Linked DNA regions of Homo sapiens: regions 1, 3, 4 and 5 are each linked to region 2. Evidence: promoter capture Hi-C in 16 types of primary human blood cells and fetal thymus (Javierre and others, 2016). All regions are on one chromosome and are shown on one strand. Each heading gives the region's core, a stretch centred on a gene start or on the middle of the fragment in contact. The rest is flanking DNA. Distances are from core to core; before and after follow the strand shown. Region 1 has its middle 3.4 kb from the start of LEAP2. Region 2 holds the start of SLC22A4 (solute carrier family 22 member 4). Region 3 has its middle 4.8 kb from the start of SOWAHA. Region 4 holds the start of FSTL4-AS1 (FSTL4 antisense RNA 1). Region 5 holds the start of ZCCHC10 (zinc finger CCHC-type containing 10).

The links. The method cuts DNA at HindIII sites, captures the fragments that hold promoters and counts their contacts. A CHiCAGO score of 5 or more calls a contact.
Region 1: a fragment that was not itself captured here is called in contact with the fragment with the promoter of SLC22A4 in region 2 in 1 of 17 cell types (monocytes); the score reaches 5.7 in monocytes.
Region 3: a contact is called between a fragment that was not itself captured here and the fragment with the promoter of SLC22A4 in region 2, in 1 of 17 cell types (monocytes). The highest score is 5.3, in monocytes.
Region 4: a contact is called between the fragment with the promoter of FSTL4-AS1 here and the fragment with the promoter of SLC22A4 in region 2, in 3 of 17 cell types (activated CD4 T cells, monocytes and total CD4 T cells). The highest score is 5.9, in activated CD4 T cells.
Region 5: a contact is called between the fragment with the promoter of ZCCHC10 here and the fragment with the promoter of SLC22A4 in region 2, in 1 of 17 cell types (neutrophils). The highest score is 8.0, in neutrophils.

What each region holds. Positions count from the first base shown.
Region 1 is chr5:132,868,914-132,871,613 of GRCh38, reverse strand. No RefSeq gene overlaps it. Among named protein-coding and RNA genes, the nearest start is that of LEAP2, 3.4 kb to the left of the region's middle. The HindIII fragment of the contact is 612 bases long and covers 1,072-1,683 here.
Region 2 is chr5:132,293,110-132,295,809 of GRCh38, reverse strand. It overlaps SLC22A4 (solute carrier family 22 member 4), which reads right to left and starts at 1,416. Exons shown (of 10, transcript NM_003059.3): 1 at 801-1,416. The coding sequence starts at 1,193. RefSeq lists silencers at 1,249-1,298, 1,369-1,728 and enhancers at 1,959-2,008, 1,825-2,443. The HindIII fragment of the contact is 9,593 bases long and covers 1-2,700 here.
Region 3 is chr5:132,807,147-132,809,913 of GRCh38, reverse strand. No RefSeq gene overlaps it. Among named protein-coding and RNA genes, the nearest start is that of SOWAHA, 4.8 kb to the left of the region's middle. RefSeq lists a silencer at 1,143-1,437. The HindIII fragment of the contact is 2,105 bases long and covers 372-2,476 here.
Region 4 is chr5:133,255,073-133,257,772 of GRCh38, reverse strand. FSTL4-AS1 (FSTL4 antisense RNA 1) reads right to left here and starts at 1,328. Exons shown (of 2, transcript XR_007058939.1): 1 at 1,255-1,328. All of the region lies in intron 6 of FSTL4 (follistatin like 4), which reads left to right. The HindIII fragment of the contact is 11,288 bases long and covers 1-2,700 here.
Region 5 is chr5:133,025,246-133,027,945 of GRCh38, reverse strand. It overlaps ZCCHC10 (zinc finger CCHC-type containing 10), which reads left to right and starts at 1,397. Exons shown (of 5, transcript NM_001300816.3): 1 at 1,397-1,449. The coding sequence starts at 1,409. RefSeq lists a silencer at 1,118-1,247 and an enhancer at 1,328-1,637. The HindIII fragment of the contact is 6,187 bases long and covers 1-2,700 here.

The DNA of each region.
Region 1 (2,700 bases), core at 128-2,627, 580 kb before region 2:
AAAGCAACATCCAGGCAGCAGTTAGCTGAATTGGCAGTATTTGTCCACAGCCATCCCATACTTGAGAGACTGTGAAGGCCTCTTCTTGAAATTAAAAAAAAAAAAATTTCATGGATTCTACAATCAAGTATTTTGCTCAGTGAATATACACGTAACTGCATGCTCCTTCATCCAATAGAAAGGCCTAAGTAGCCTTTAACAGTTGCAGCCGTAAGAAGGTAGAATGCTTGGCTGGTAAGCAGTAGCCTGGGGTCTACAGAGTGCAACTGCCCATAGGCCAGCCCTTCCCCTTTTTGGGCTTTAGTCTCCTATTCTGTCAGTTTGGGGGTTCAAATGACTAATTTACAAGAAGAAAATGAGACTGAAGCAGATTTGATAGCTGAGAGCTTGGTAACTCTGGATACAACTCTCAAGAGATTTTATGCTTCTGAGGCAAATGCTTAGGATGAAATGGGAGAAAGAGGGTATAGCTACATGAGCAGCTGTTTGAAACACATTCCAGGTCGATCACTAGGAGTTGGCAGTAATTGGAAACTTTTTGCTGTCCCTAAGCAGGAGGTGCCTAATAAAAGATGAAAGACTCTGAAATGGAAAAACTTTACCAGGTAAAATTTCAACAAAAGGTCAAGGTGTATTTGCTTTTTTGCTAGCTGGAACTGGCATAGACTTTTGGGCCTACCTTAGGCCTGCATTTTGAGGACTGCCTGCAAACTAAAAGAGCAAGGGCATTCCTTTCATCAGACTCTGCAGCCCATAGATAAAAACGCTTGTGGGGGCAGGAGCATTTGGAAAAAGAAAGGTCAAATGGAGCAAATGGTTGTGCCAGAGTAGCAGGTAAGGGATCCATACCCAGGACTGGAGGCTCCAGATGGGTTACCAGCACTGAAGCCCACAGCAGCTGTCTTTCCTTCAAAGGTTTTACTCAGGTTCTCCTCTGAGGATTTCTGCAAATGTCCCCTAAAATGATCCCAGGTCATGTATAGGAGCACTGAACTACTAAAACTCACCACATTCCACACACCCACCACCTCAGCACTCCTGCCACACAGGTGAGATCCATTTCCCCAAGCTTAGAGAGGGAAGCCCTTTGATGAGACACAGGCTTAAAGCAGACTAATTTCATCCAAAGCAGAAGCTCCACACATCACAGGGCTTACGGCAGAGTCATCTCAGTAGAGCACTCCTGGAATAAAAAGAATAGGCTTGGTGCCTGGTTTGGGCTGAGAAAAGGGATTTGGATCTTTTGAGCTGGTCTCTCCAAAGGAGTCAAAGAACCAGGGAGAAATAGTCTAAGTGTAGAACAAGGTGAGCAAGATGGGAGAGGGTGGCCGTCTACTTCGGCGGGTTGGGGCAAACACCAGAGGGAGAAAGACATTAACGGCCTCTCAAAGCAGTGGTCCTCCTCTGGGCTGTGAACTCTTTGAAGCTATGCAAGGTAAGGATGGGTCCACAGTTTTCATCATTCTCAAGTCTATGACCCAAATATGTTGCAAGACCTGGGAATAAATCTGGACAAAGAGGCAAATGGGAAAATTGGACTGTCTTTTGGGGGTGAGGTAGAAGAGTTCCTCAGTTAGTTGCCCTGTGTTAAGCCCGTACCATCTTGCCAGACACTTGTCACTCATTTCACCATCACCACAACCCAAGAACTTTATAATATTTCTATTTTATGGGTGAGAAGCTTAAGGCTCATGAAAGTAGGTTTCTTGCCTATATCACATAATGAGGAAGTGACGGGCTAAGAGGACGAGCCCAAGACTGTAAGACTCAGCCTTTTCCCCGTATCCTGCCTCACAATGTAGTTTATCTTTTAGGTTTTGTTTTGAAGTCTCGCTCTGTCACCCAGGCTGGAGTGCAGTGGCACAATCTTGGCTCACTGCAACCTCCACCTCCCAGGTTCAAGCGTTTCTGCCTCAGCCTCCTGAGTAGCTGGGATTATAGGCGTGTGCCACCACACTCAGCTAATTTTTATATTTTTAGTAGAGACAGGGTTTCACCATGTTGGCCAGGCTGGTCTCAAACTCCTGACCTCAAGTGATCCATCCACTTCAGCCTCCCAAAGTGCTGGGATTACAGGTGTGAGCCACTGTATCCGGCCATGTTTTGAAGTATCTTAACTTTTGATTCTTAAAAGGCAATAGCAGTAATTAGGATAATAAAGATACAGTCTGGCCAGGCACGGTGGCTCACACCTGTAATCCCAGCACTTTGGGAGGTCGAGGCAGGTGGATCACGAGGTCAAGAGATCAAGACCATCCTGGCCAACATGGTGAAACTCCGTCTCTACTAAAAAAAAAAATAAAAATACAAAAATTAGCTGGGTGTGTTGGTATGCGCCTGTAGTCCCAGCTATTTGGGAGGCTGAGGCAGGAGAATCACTTGAGCCCGGGAAGCGGAGGTTGCAGTAAGCTGAGATTGCGCCACTAAACTCCAGCCTGGTGACAGAGCAAGACTCCCATCTCAAAAAAAAAAAAAAAAAAACACAGTCTGACCCAGAATCAAAGTTGCTGCTAGCAGGAAGAGTCCTTAGAAGAGTTTCTAAAAACGGATCTCAGATCCCATAGCATATACTGTACTGACTGAGCTATGACAACTCATCATATTCCACATACCTGCTACCACAGGTGAGATCCATGTCCCGAAGCTTAGAGAGAAGCCTCTCTAAGGAACTAGAGGCATAAAACTGCCAACCACACCTAC
Region 2 (2,700 bases), core at 167-2,666:
AATAGCAGGCAACAGCTCCATGAGGATGCTCTCCTCAGAAGAAAGGTGTATCCTGACCCAGGTCCTTACCAGATGTGAAGCAGCAAAAGCGGGAGAAGTGTGTGTGCATCCTCATTCCTGGAACTTAGAAAACCTGCCACTAACCACGCAGGGTGCTGAGGGGCTACAGCCCCTGCCTGCCAACTCACCCTGTGCTCAGAGAGGTCCCTGAGGGCCAGGGCTTCCAGCTGGGGTTTCGCCTTCTGTGCTTCCTTGCACCCAATGAGCCTCAGGAGGCCATCTGCTGTCTTAGAGAAACTGGGGCCTCAGGAAAGGACCCCAAACCTCACAAGTATATGGTACGGCAGTACACCTCCTGATGCCTCCAGAAGTCTGTGGCCAGGGAACAGACAAGATTTGGCCCCGCCCTGCCCAGTAACAAGGTCCCTCACACCCCTCCTCCCATGCCTGGCAGGAAGGTGACTCAGGCAGTGCGTCTGGGTAGCCTGGGGCTGCGCTTCCCCCAACGCAACATCTAGGTTCTTAGGAAACTTCATTTGTTGTGAAAATCGGAAATGAAAAGACAGTTGGTGACAAACTCCTTTCTCCATCACCTCCTTATTGGACAGAAACGACCCAGGAATGCGCCTCGCGTGAGTCCTATTCTTTCTTGGGGTGCACACCCGCTGCTGGAAGTATGAACAGCAGGTTTGAGGGGGAGGGGAGCGCTGACCCGGGCACTGCGCAGGGAGTCTCAAGGGGGGCTGACGCAGAGGGAGGGTCAGGCACTCCCGGGTCAACGGTCTCGGCCTGGCACCCACCTCGGTCACGACGGTGGACAGGTAGACGTCCTGGCTGAACTCCCAGCCATCCAGGCAGCTCTCCTGCTCCAGCTGCCCCAGGTCCACGTCGCGCCCCGGCTCCAGCCCGAGCGCCGAGAAGTTGGCGATGGTGGCGAGCCGGTAGCGGCTGCAGCTGTGGGGCACCTCGCGGCCGTCCCGCAGCCGCAGCGGGACACTGTTGTTGCGCCAGGCGCTGCTCAGGTTCGCGGCGTCCGGCACTCGACAGCGGTGCTCCGGGGTCCCCGCCAGGAACACGACTGACATACCATTGAAGCCATTGGGGATGATGCTGGCGCTGAGCAGGAAGAAGATGAGGCGCTGGAAGGGCCCCCACTCGCCCAGGAAGGCGATCACCTCGTCGTAGTCCCGCATGCTTCCCACTGCCGCTCCGAAACTTGCAACTACGGGTGATGACAGCGTTCTCAGGACAGTGTCTTGTAGCTGGGGCGCTCCCCAAGGATGTTAGAACGTTCCCGGGGGACAGGCAGGCTGTTAGAAATTGGGGCGCGAAGCCGGGGACCGTTCCTGGGAAACAGGCTGAAGGCGTTGGAGCGTTCCCGGGAGCTCGCGCTGAGCTTGATGCCACTGTACACTTGGGACCACACCCCCATCCCCGGCCGGGCGCGGGGAAGGGGAGGGCGGCCCAGCCCGGGAGGCTGGGCTCCCGGCTGTCTCCGCCCTGTGCTTCGCGCGCCCGCCCGCCCCCAAGGACCTGACGGGGGCTTCCAGGCTGGGCTCAGCCATTCCGCCCGCGTGCCGGGGAAGAAGCTCGTTCTCGGTTGTCCCCAGCCACCCCCGAGCGCTGATTCCCAGACCTGGGCCCCACGTGGGAGGGCGGGCGCAAGGGAGGAGCCGAGGCCAGAGAGCGAGTTCTCGGAGGGGTCGGCCCTCGATCTGCTCGGGCCGCGTGGCCCCGGGCCCAGACCCCAGCAGGGTTCCCTCCGCGGTCTCCTCCAATCTGGAGGCTGAGCTTAGGCTGCCACGCGTGGGGCGCGGAGGGGCGAGTCAGTGGAGTCGGTTCCCGGGAAACTTCTGGGGGCGGCAGAGCGACAGGAGCGCGCCCTCTCCTGTGGCGCCTCGCGCAGGCGGCTGGCACACGCCGACAGGGAGCTCATTTCCCAACAGTCCTAGCAGAGCTGAATTCGGTCACCCCTGGCGGCGCCCGGACAGCGTCCTCAGGACAGCCAGGACCCTCATCTTGCACAGGGAAAACAGGCCCACAGCCTGGAAGGGATGAGCAAGGTCACACTACGTCAGAGATGGGCCCGGATCGGAGGGAGGGGCGGGGGCAGGAGACAACCGAGTGCCCGGGAGGCGAGTTTCCTCCCCCGCACGCCGGCGTAATGGCTGAGCCCAGCCTGGAAGCCCCCGCCGGGTCCATGGGCGGGCGGGCGCCAGGACATGGAGCCTGCGCATTGCGGGAGCACAGTCATGGAGGCACTGTCGTCACGCTGGGTTCTGATTTTGAGCCCCTTGCTCTCCTCACGCCCCCAGGGCCCTTTATCGCGGCAGGCTGTCAGAGCTTTCTCCGACTGGAAGGCTTTCTGTTAGCAGAAGGGCCTGCCCCCAGTCCAGGAACAGAGGGAGGGAGGGAGAGAGAAGTAGGAGATCCGATTTGGCGCTCAGACCCGGCAGGGTAACCAAAGCAGGGACCACAGCCTCCCTTTTTTTGGCTCAGTGCCCAGACCTAAGGCCCTTCTGCTGTTGTGTGAGCTAGCCCGGGCCTGGAGCCTGAGCCCTGGGGTTCACGAGGCAGATAAAATTGACAGGGTGAAGAGCTCACCTCTTTGGAGATTTTGCACGAGTGTGTTTGTTTCCCCAGGCTCCGATTAAGAGGCGGAGGGACATTTCTGCCTCTTTTTGTGTAGCTTCCAGTCTG
Region 3 (2,767 bases), core at 175-2,674, 510 kb before region 2:
CATAGATATATACACAACCATCTACACCATTTGGTACACATGGGATTAGACCGCGTGTTGCTAAGAACCCATGTTACCTTAGTCAAGACTGGTGTGGCGAATGGGCGGAAGAGGGGACCCTGGGGAGGTAGTGGCAGGGTCCAGTGGAAGACGGTAGGGCTTATCAAGCTCGGACAGTGGATGGGTGCCAAAGATACTTCAGAAACAGAACTTGCATTATATTGTCTTGTTTTCACTTTTAAAGTTATATTCCCTTTGTTTTAATTTTCATTTCAATAGCTACTTTTTATATTTTATTTTCCTACCTTTTTCTGGGCCAATTGTTGTGTTCCTTGAAAAGTCATTTCCATGATCTCATAGGTAGTGAAGCTTCAACTTGGACTTTTGTTACCATCTCTTGTCTCCAAGAAGAGAGATGAGGGAGAGCACTCTCTGTTAAAGATCATTATTGATTTATGTGGTTTGAACTAATTTTGACTATGATTGTAACCCCCCAATGGATTAATTTACCTTGCCCACTGCCTAGACAGAGCCGATTTATCAAGACAGGGGAATTGCAATGGAGAAAGAGTAATTCACACAGAGCTGGCTGTGCAAGAAGACCAGAGTTTTATTATTACTCAAATCAGTCTCCCTGAGAATTTAGGGACTGGAGTTTTTAAGGATAATTTGGTGGGTAGGGGGGCCAGTGAATTGGGGGTTCTGATCGGTCAGGTCAGAGATGAAATCACAGGGAGTTGAAGCTGTCCTCTTGCATTGAGTCAGCTCCTGGGTGGGGGCTACAAGACCAGATGAGCCAGTTTACGAGCCTGGGTGGTGCCAGCTGATGCATCAAGTACAGGGTCTGCAAAATATCTCAAGAACTGATCTTAGGCTTCACAATAGTGACGTTATCCCCAGGGGCAATTTGGGGAGGTTTAGAATCTTGCAGCCTCCAGCTGCCTGACTTCTAAACCATAATCTAATCTTTTGGCTAATTTGTTAATTCTACAAAGGCAGTCTAGTTCATTTTGGGAAAGGGCTGTTACCATCTTTGTTTCAAACTATAAACTAAGTTTCTCCCAAAGTTAATTTGGCCTATGCTCAGGAATGAACAAGGACAACTTGGAGGTTAGAAGCAAGATGGAGTTAGTAAGATCAGATCTCTTTCACTGTCTCAGTTATAATTTTGCAATGGTGGTTTCATGATCGCTAAGAGTAGACAAGGATTAAATACTGATTGAACAGGAATTGCTAGTACAAGCCGTTTATTGACAGTGCTTAACAGGCTTCAGGCTCTGAGCTACATAAGGAAACTTGGCCAAGGTCACAGTTAACAATTGGCTGAGCTCAAACTGGAACCCCAGGCTACCTGCCTATGCTCATTTACCATGCAAAGTTAGGTCACTGATGATTTAAAATTGATGTTCTGAATGTTTAATAAATAAAGTAGGGAAAAACTCCTCACAAATACCTTACTTAAACTTTTATTTATGCTTGTGCTTCTGAACATACTCTGCTTTAATATTTTAAGTGATAAGTTTATAGTTTGAGCAAACATTACAGTGAGGATGCTAATGACATCCAGTTCCCCAGGCTGCTTTTCAGTTTTGATGCCCTGTTGCCAGTGAGGCCAGAGAATCAATTCTTCCAGTGACCCAGCAGTTTGCCCGCAACATTAGGAAAATCAAATATAAAATGTATATTTATAGCAAGGATAAAATTCCATGATGTGTCTTGAACATGGAGAATGAAATAGGAAGGCTATTTGTTCTTATCTCAGTATCTTAAATATGAAGCAGATCAGGGTAGAGGCCCTCTGTAATTTTTAAAGCTACAATATTTAAATATAAAATAAAATAATTTCATAATCTTATGCTATGTTACATTACATTTATATTATTATTTTTGAGACAAAGTCTCGCTCTTGTCCCCTAGGCTGGAGTGCGATGGCACGATCTTGGCTCACTGCAACCTCTGCTTCCTGGGTTCAAGTGATTCTCCTGCTTCAGCCTCCTGAGTAGCTGGGATTACAGATGCCTGCCAATGGTATTTTTGTGTTTTTAGTAGAGACAGGGTTTCACCATGTTGTTCAGGCTGGTCTCAAACTCCTGACCTCAGGTGATCTGCCCACCTCGGCCTCCCAAAGTGCTGGGATTATAGGCGTGAGCCATCACGCCTGGTCTGTATTCTGTTCTGTTCTATTCCTTATTCCAATCCACACTACCCTCTGAACCCCATGCCTAGGCCCCACCAAGAGCTGTAGCGGATGCTTAATGTTTGTAAATGTCTTCTCCCCTACCATGGCAGTGCAAATCAGCTCCTTCCATTGCGTTTATCCAACGCAGCCTGCCACCTCTGCCCCCTGGTGTCTCACCAATACATCTCATCTGTAAAGAAGAGTTCCTCCGGTCCCAGGAGGCAGGAGCTCCAGGGACTTGAGGGGGATGGGCTGCCCAGCAGTGGCTGTAAAGGGACTTTGCCCAGATATCAAGCTTTTGCGGTCAACTTCCGGAACAAATCGTGCTTTGTTCTTGCTTCCAGCCCAGGGGAAGCAAAGGGGACCTCTCTCATGCCTGCAGCTTGTTAAGCCCACTTCTCTCTAAGGTCAAAAGAACTTTATTTCTAAATCTGAGTGAAAGTGTCAGCTCACGTGTTTCTGCTGTAGACTGAGTTTTTGACTCTGCAGTTCATTTTTCAGGCTGCTGCTTCTCTGATTGCTCAGACTATTGCTTGGTTGCTAAGTAGGGAGCCACAGACCTGGTCCACGGAGACTTGGAAAGCTGTG
Region 4 (2,700 bases), core at 79-2,578, 960 kb before region 2:
CACAGGAACCAGCGGAGGTGGAAGAGCTGGTATGCAGCACTGTGACAGCCATGCTCCTGCTGACCAGGAGGCCCTGTGCTCTCCACCTCAGCAAGGACCCTTTGCTCCTTCTGATGGATGCCTCTCCTGCCTGCCACACTGTGGCACCCCATGATACCCAGAATGGTGATCTCACAGCCCCTGGGCACTGAGTTCTGCTCTAACTTCCTGTTCGTCTGCACACAGCAGTCACATTGAGGTTTAGTTTTCTCAAAACTAAAAAGGTGTATTGGCCAGAGGAGGCTAAATGGAACCCCAGAGCCTAGAGGGATGCCCAGGTAACCCTGCCCCTGCACAGGCCGGCCCCTCCTGCAAACAAGGAGGATACTACATCAGACTAGGATGTCTCGATAGCAGGACACAGGTCTGCCAGGCACACAGGGAGGGCTCTACCAAGAAAGAGGGCAACCAGGCTTTACAGGAGTCACGGGCCCTTAACCTGGGGTCTGTAGACAGGTTCAGGCCTCTGCTCTCCCTCCCCACTTAACACTTGTCTTCTCTGCTAAGCCATGAGCTCCAGGTTAGCAAGCACTGGGCCTGTTTTTCTTGCCAGTATATTCCCACTGTATCCTGGCTCCTGGTACCAGCTCCATAAATAATTGTTGACTGAGCACTAGCCTAATAGTTCACTTGCTTAAAACTGCTTATTAAGTCCCTTCTGCGTGGTAGGCATTGTATTAGGTGCTGGGGATACAACATAAATAAAACAGATATAGTCTCTGCCTTTATGCAGCTTACAAAGGTGTTTGTTCACACCAGAGAGCAGAACTTGATAACTAAACTGTAATAAAAGTTGAAGCAACATCAAGCAACATAGGCCAGTTGAAAAAGTAAATTACCCACTGACCCGCAGGTAATTAACTAGTAATTTTATTGCCATCCCCAAAATGAAGCAAGCAAGAGGGAATGACAATGGCAGGAAGATTGAATCTGGTTACACGTAAGGAAACAGGAGATTTGGGACAGATGCAAGTGCTCTCTTGTGTGGCTTTGGAGCAAGTCTGGCTAATACAGAGCCACCTGTGCAGGCTGGATGCACCCTGGTGCTCTAAACAGGAATGTCAAGATGAAAGGCTTTAAGACATCCTGTCCCCAGCCTCCCATCCACAAACATTCAGCAGTTATTTGAAAGGATCCCAGAGTGACAATCTCTGGTAGACGGAACAGAGGAGACAAAAAGCACACCATCCCTCCCACCCGCCTTGCCCGGCTCACCAGGATACGCCAAAGCAGCTTCACTCTGTAAACACCAGCCAAAGTCACAAGGTCCGGGAGATGTTGCCCTGTTTGTTCAGGAGACACTGGGCATGCGCACTCCCCCTTGGCTCCTCCCCTACTCGCCAACTTCACAGTGTGACTCTGGTCACAGGGATGGGACCAGATCAATAGACTTTGTCACTCCAATGCCCCAGCTTCTTTGGTGGCACCTAGGTCACCTGAGGGGTTTGTTTCAGGAAAGCACATTAATTTAGAAGGAGAATAATGTGGGAAGAGGCCGCAGTTAGAGAGATGTGTCTAAGCGCCTGGCCTGTGCTCTCTCCAAATTGCCCTCATTCCCAAGCAGGCCCCTGAGCCTGAGTTTGCCCTCCGAGGCTCAGTCAAAAATATTGATGTGCAGGCAGGTTACTGAGCTTTTGACAGGGTTTTTTTCACCAATGGCATCATTTGAAAAATGGCAAATATCCAAGTAGGAATGTGTTCCATTAGTGTGTTTCTGACATAAGAAAACTAACACCAGCTTGACAAGAATTTGAGAAATTTAATTTCTATCACTACAAAGCACCAGAATCCTGTTTGAGAGGGTGCTGATGGGTTTATGAGTGTCTTATCGAGTTCAAGTCAGTGTGAGAAATAGCGCCTGAGATTAAGGGAAACCTGTAATAGGAACTAAAACCCAGTTCTCCAACAACTGAAATGTTATGGCCTCCTGCTTTCAGGAAGGGTGTTTGTTAGCCTGCTTATGGTAAGCCCATTAATTCCCTGTGACTGCCTCTTCTCTCCAAGCTCCAAGACTCAGGGAGAAAGGTGAGGACGGGTGTTTGTGGCATCTCATGTCTGGAAAACCAAGGGTATGCTACTGCACTGGTTTGAAGGGCCTAGAGAGATAGGTCATGGCCTTGAGCCCACCTACTGTGTGCCATGCCTTGTGCTAGGCACCAGAGTGCCAGACAGCCCTGCCCAGAATCCCACTGTGGGACACGCAGCCTAGCTAGTGGTCCAGGAAGCTCTGTCTTGTGCCAACCAACCCACACTGACTTGGGCCATCACTGCAGTGTGACCCATTTGTTTTCATCCCAGGGGGATATCATGGGAAGCCCTGAGCTTTGAGAACCCCCCAACTCCCTTGCCCTCCTCAGATTCCCTACTTGCAGAGCAGCTCTCCAATGTCAGTTCTCATAGCAGGGCGTCAGTCCCTCTGTGGGCACAGACTTCTGCCCAGTAGTGCCAGACAAGCTCCCTGATGGGCTGCTCTGACCCCCAACCCAGCCCTCTCTTTCCAAAGACACCAGCCTCAGTGTGTAGACACATTCTCACCCCAGACACAGCGTCTGGCTGAGCCCTCTCTCACTGACCCCTGATCACACTCTGAGTGCTGGGCATATCACGTTTGGTCGTCCAGGGACCTTGGAAACCTTCCCACATAGTGGCTAATGAGCCCAC
Region 5 (2,700 bases), core at 148-2,647, 730 kb before region 2:
CCAACCTCAGGTGATCCGCCCTTCTCGGCCTCCGAAAGTGCTGGGATTACAGGCGTGAGCCACTGCGCCTGGCCGGGAAAACATTTTCATAAGTACACTGAGGAATGAAAAAATCAAGCTGGAGAACACAACATGTAAGAGCCTATTTTTTTGAAGAACAAGTTGTGCTCAAAGGTCACATCATCACCTTCCCTAACTCCTAATCACTCTTTAATCCCTTACTCTGAAATATTTTTCGTTAGAGTACTTATGCCCATGAGAATAGTCTTCATTCATTGTCTGTAGAAAGTTCCATGTGTACACGGATTTTATTTGTTCAAATGCTCTGTCCTCAGCTCCTAAAACATTTTAAGTGTTAATTATTAATTGAAAAAATATGGCTGGGCGCGGTGGCTCACGCCTGTAATCCCAGCACTTTAGGAGGCCGAGGCGGGCGGATTATGAGGTCAGGAGATCGAGACCATCCTGGCCAACATGGTGAAACCCTGTCTCTAGTAAAAATACAAAAATTAGCTGGGCATGGTGGCGCGTGCTTGTCATCCCAGCTATTCGGGAGTGTGAGACAAGAGAATCTCTTGAACCAGGGACCCAGAGGTTGCACTGAGCCGAGATCGCGCCACTGCACTCCAGCCTGGCGACACAGCGAGACTCTGTCTCAAATTAAAAAAAAAAGGAAAAAATATGGATGACCCAGAAACACACACACACTTCAGAAAATTATATATATTTCAGAGAACGTGGGTTTTAAGAGAATAATAGCTCCGTGAGCTGACATTAGATGTAGGTGCAGCTAAAATATTCTAAAATATTTGTATAGTCCTTTTCTGCTTGATAAAGCAGCTTTAGTTATACAGTCCCATTTAGTACTCGTAACAACGCTGTGAAATACATAAAAAACAGAAATAACGTATATGTTTGCACTCCATGGCTTGCTAAAGTCATTCTTTCAATTGATGGTCTCAATCCTGGTCAACTAATTCCTTTCTATTCTCCAGACTACTTCTAGTTTTCTGAACACCAAAGTTTCATTCTTTGTCTTTGTATGTGTATCCCTCGTTCGAGAATGTTGTCCTCATTTTCCACAGATAATGTTCTTGCCTGTAATCATCCTTTGAAACCCTGTTCGGCCCGAGAACCCGAGACCCATACTGGAGACACCGGCCCCTCCCGACCCACCAGTCCCTCCCGTCCCGACCCTCCAGCCCCTCCAGCCCCTCCCCTCCCGACCCTCCAGCCCCTCCCCTCCCGACCCTCCAGCCCCTCCCCTCCCGACCCACCAGCCGGCACTAAGATACCTCCCCTTAGAAGCCTGTCTGGCCCCGCCTACGTCTACGGCCTCCCGGTTGGAAGCCCCGCCCTTCCGAGGAGTTTCCCAAAACCCTGCGCGGCCGGCTTTGACCGCGCTAAGATGGCGACTCCCATGCATCGGCTAATAGCCCGGAGACAAGCGTAAGTAAGGATCCGGTTCGGGTCCACTGGAGGGCTGGGAGCGGGGAAACGCGCGTCAACGGGCTGGTGTCGGACCCCTATTGGGACCGGCGGAGAATGTCCGTTTCTCAAACACTCTTCTGGCTCCCGGGGGGCTCGGGCCCGGGCGATAAGTCTGGTGACCGGGGGTTAGCGATTTCGCGGAAGACAGCCGCGTAAAGTCTGCGGCACGGGACAGAGCGGGGTTTGAAGACAACTGTCGCGTTTGGTTTCTCTGAAAGGAACGCCCACAGTTGGTCACTCAGTGATTTATGCCCCTCCGCCAACCCCACGCGTGGACAGGGGAGCCCTGAAGCCCCGGTCCGACACCTTTATTCCAGCCGACGTAAACCTTCAGTTTCCTATTCAGTGTCCAGCCCAGCTGCCTTTTCCTACTTCCTTATTCTAGCGCCTTCCTTAGGAACACCCTGCCTTCAATGCCGATTGCTTTCCCAGGCTATCTTACCACCTTTTGCTACTCATTCTCTCTTTCAATAAATATTAATTTATTTAGTTCCTACCGTTCTGTGCCAGACATTGGGTATAAATAGAGGTGTTCAAGACAAAATCCTTGCTTTCAGAGAGCTTACATTCTAGTGATGGAAACAGTCGATAAACCACAAATTGTAAATACAGCTGGTGATAACAGCTTTGAAGGAAGTAAGCTGTTGTGATGGAAAGAGGGAAAGGCCCACTTTAGGTTGGTTGGACTGGAAAGGCATCTCTGAAGAGGTGGAATTTGAACAGAGATTTAAAGGATGAAAAAGGAACAGTCATACGAGGATTTTGAGAAAGAGCATCCGGATAGTGGCATAATTGCTTTGAGCCTGAAACTTACTTTTTACAGAACTGAAAGATAGCCATTACGCCTAATGAACAAGAGAGAGTGGCAGAAGAGATTCATAGCTGACAAATAATGCAAGGGTCACCCCAGATGCCCCTTTCTTTTTTTTTTTTTTTTTTTTTTTTTTTTTTGAGGCGGAGTCTTGCTCTGTCTCCCAGGCTGGAGTGCAGAGGTGCAATCTTGGCTCACTGCAAGCTCCGCCCCCCGGGTTCACGCCGTTCCCCTGCCTCAGCCTCCCGAGTAGCTGGGACTACAGGCGCCCGCCACCATGCCCGGCTGGTTTTTTGTATTTTTAGTAGAGATGGGGTTTCACCGTGTTAGCCAGGATGGTCTCGATCCCCTGACCTCGAGATCCGCCCGCCTTGGCCTCCCAAAGTGCTGGGATTACA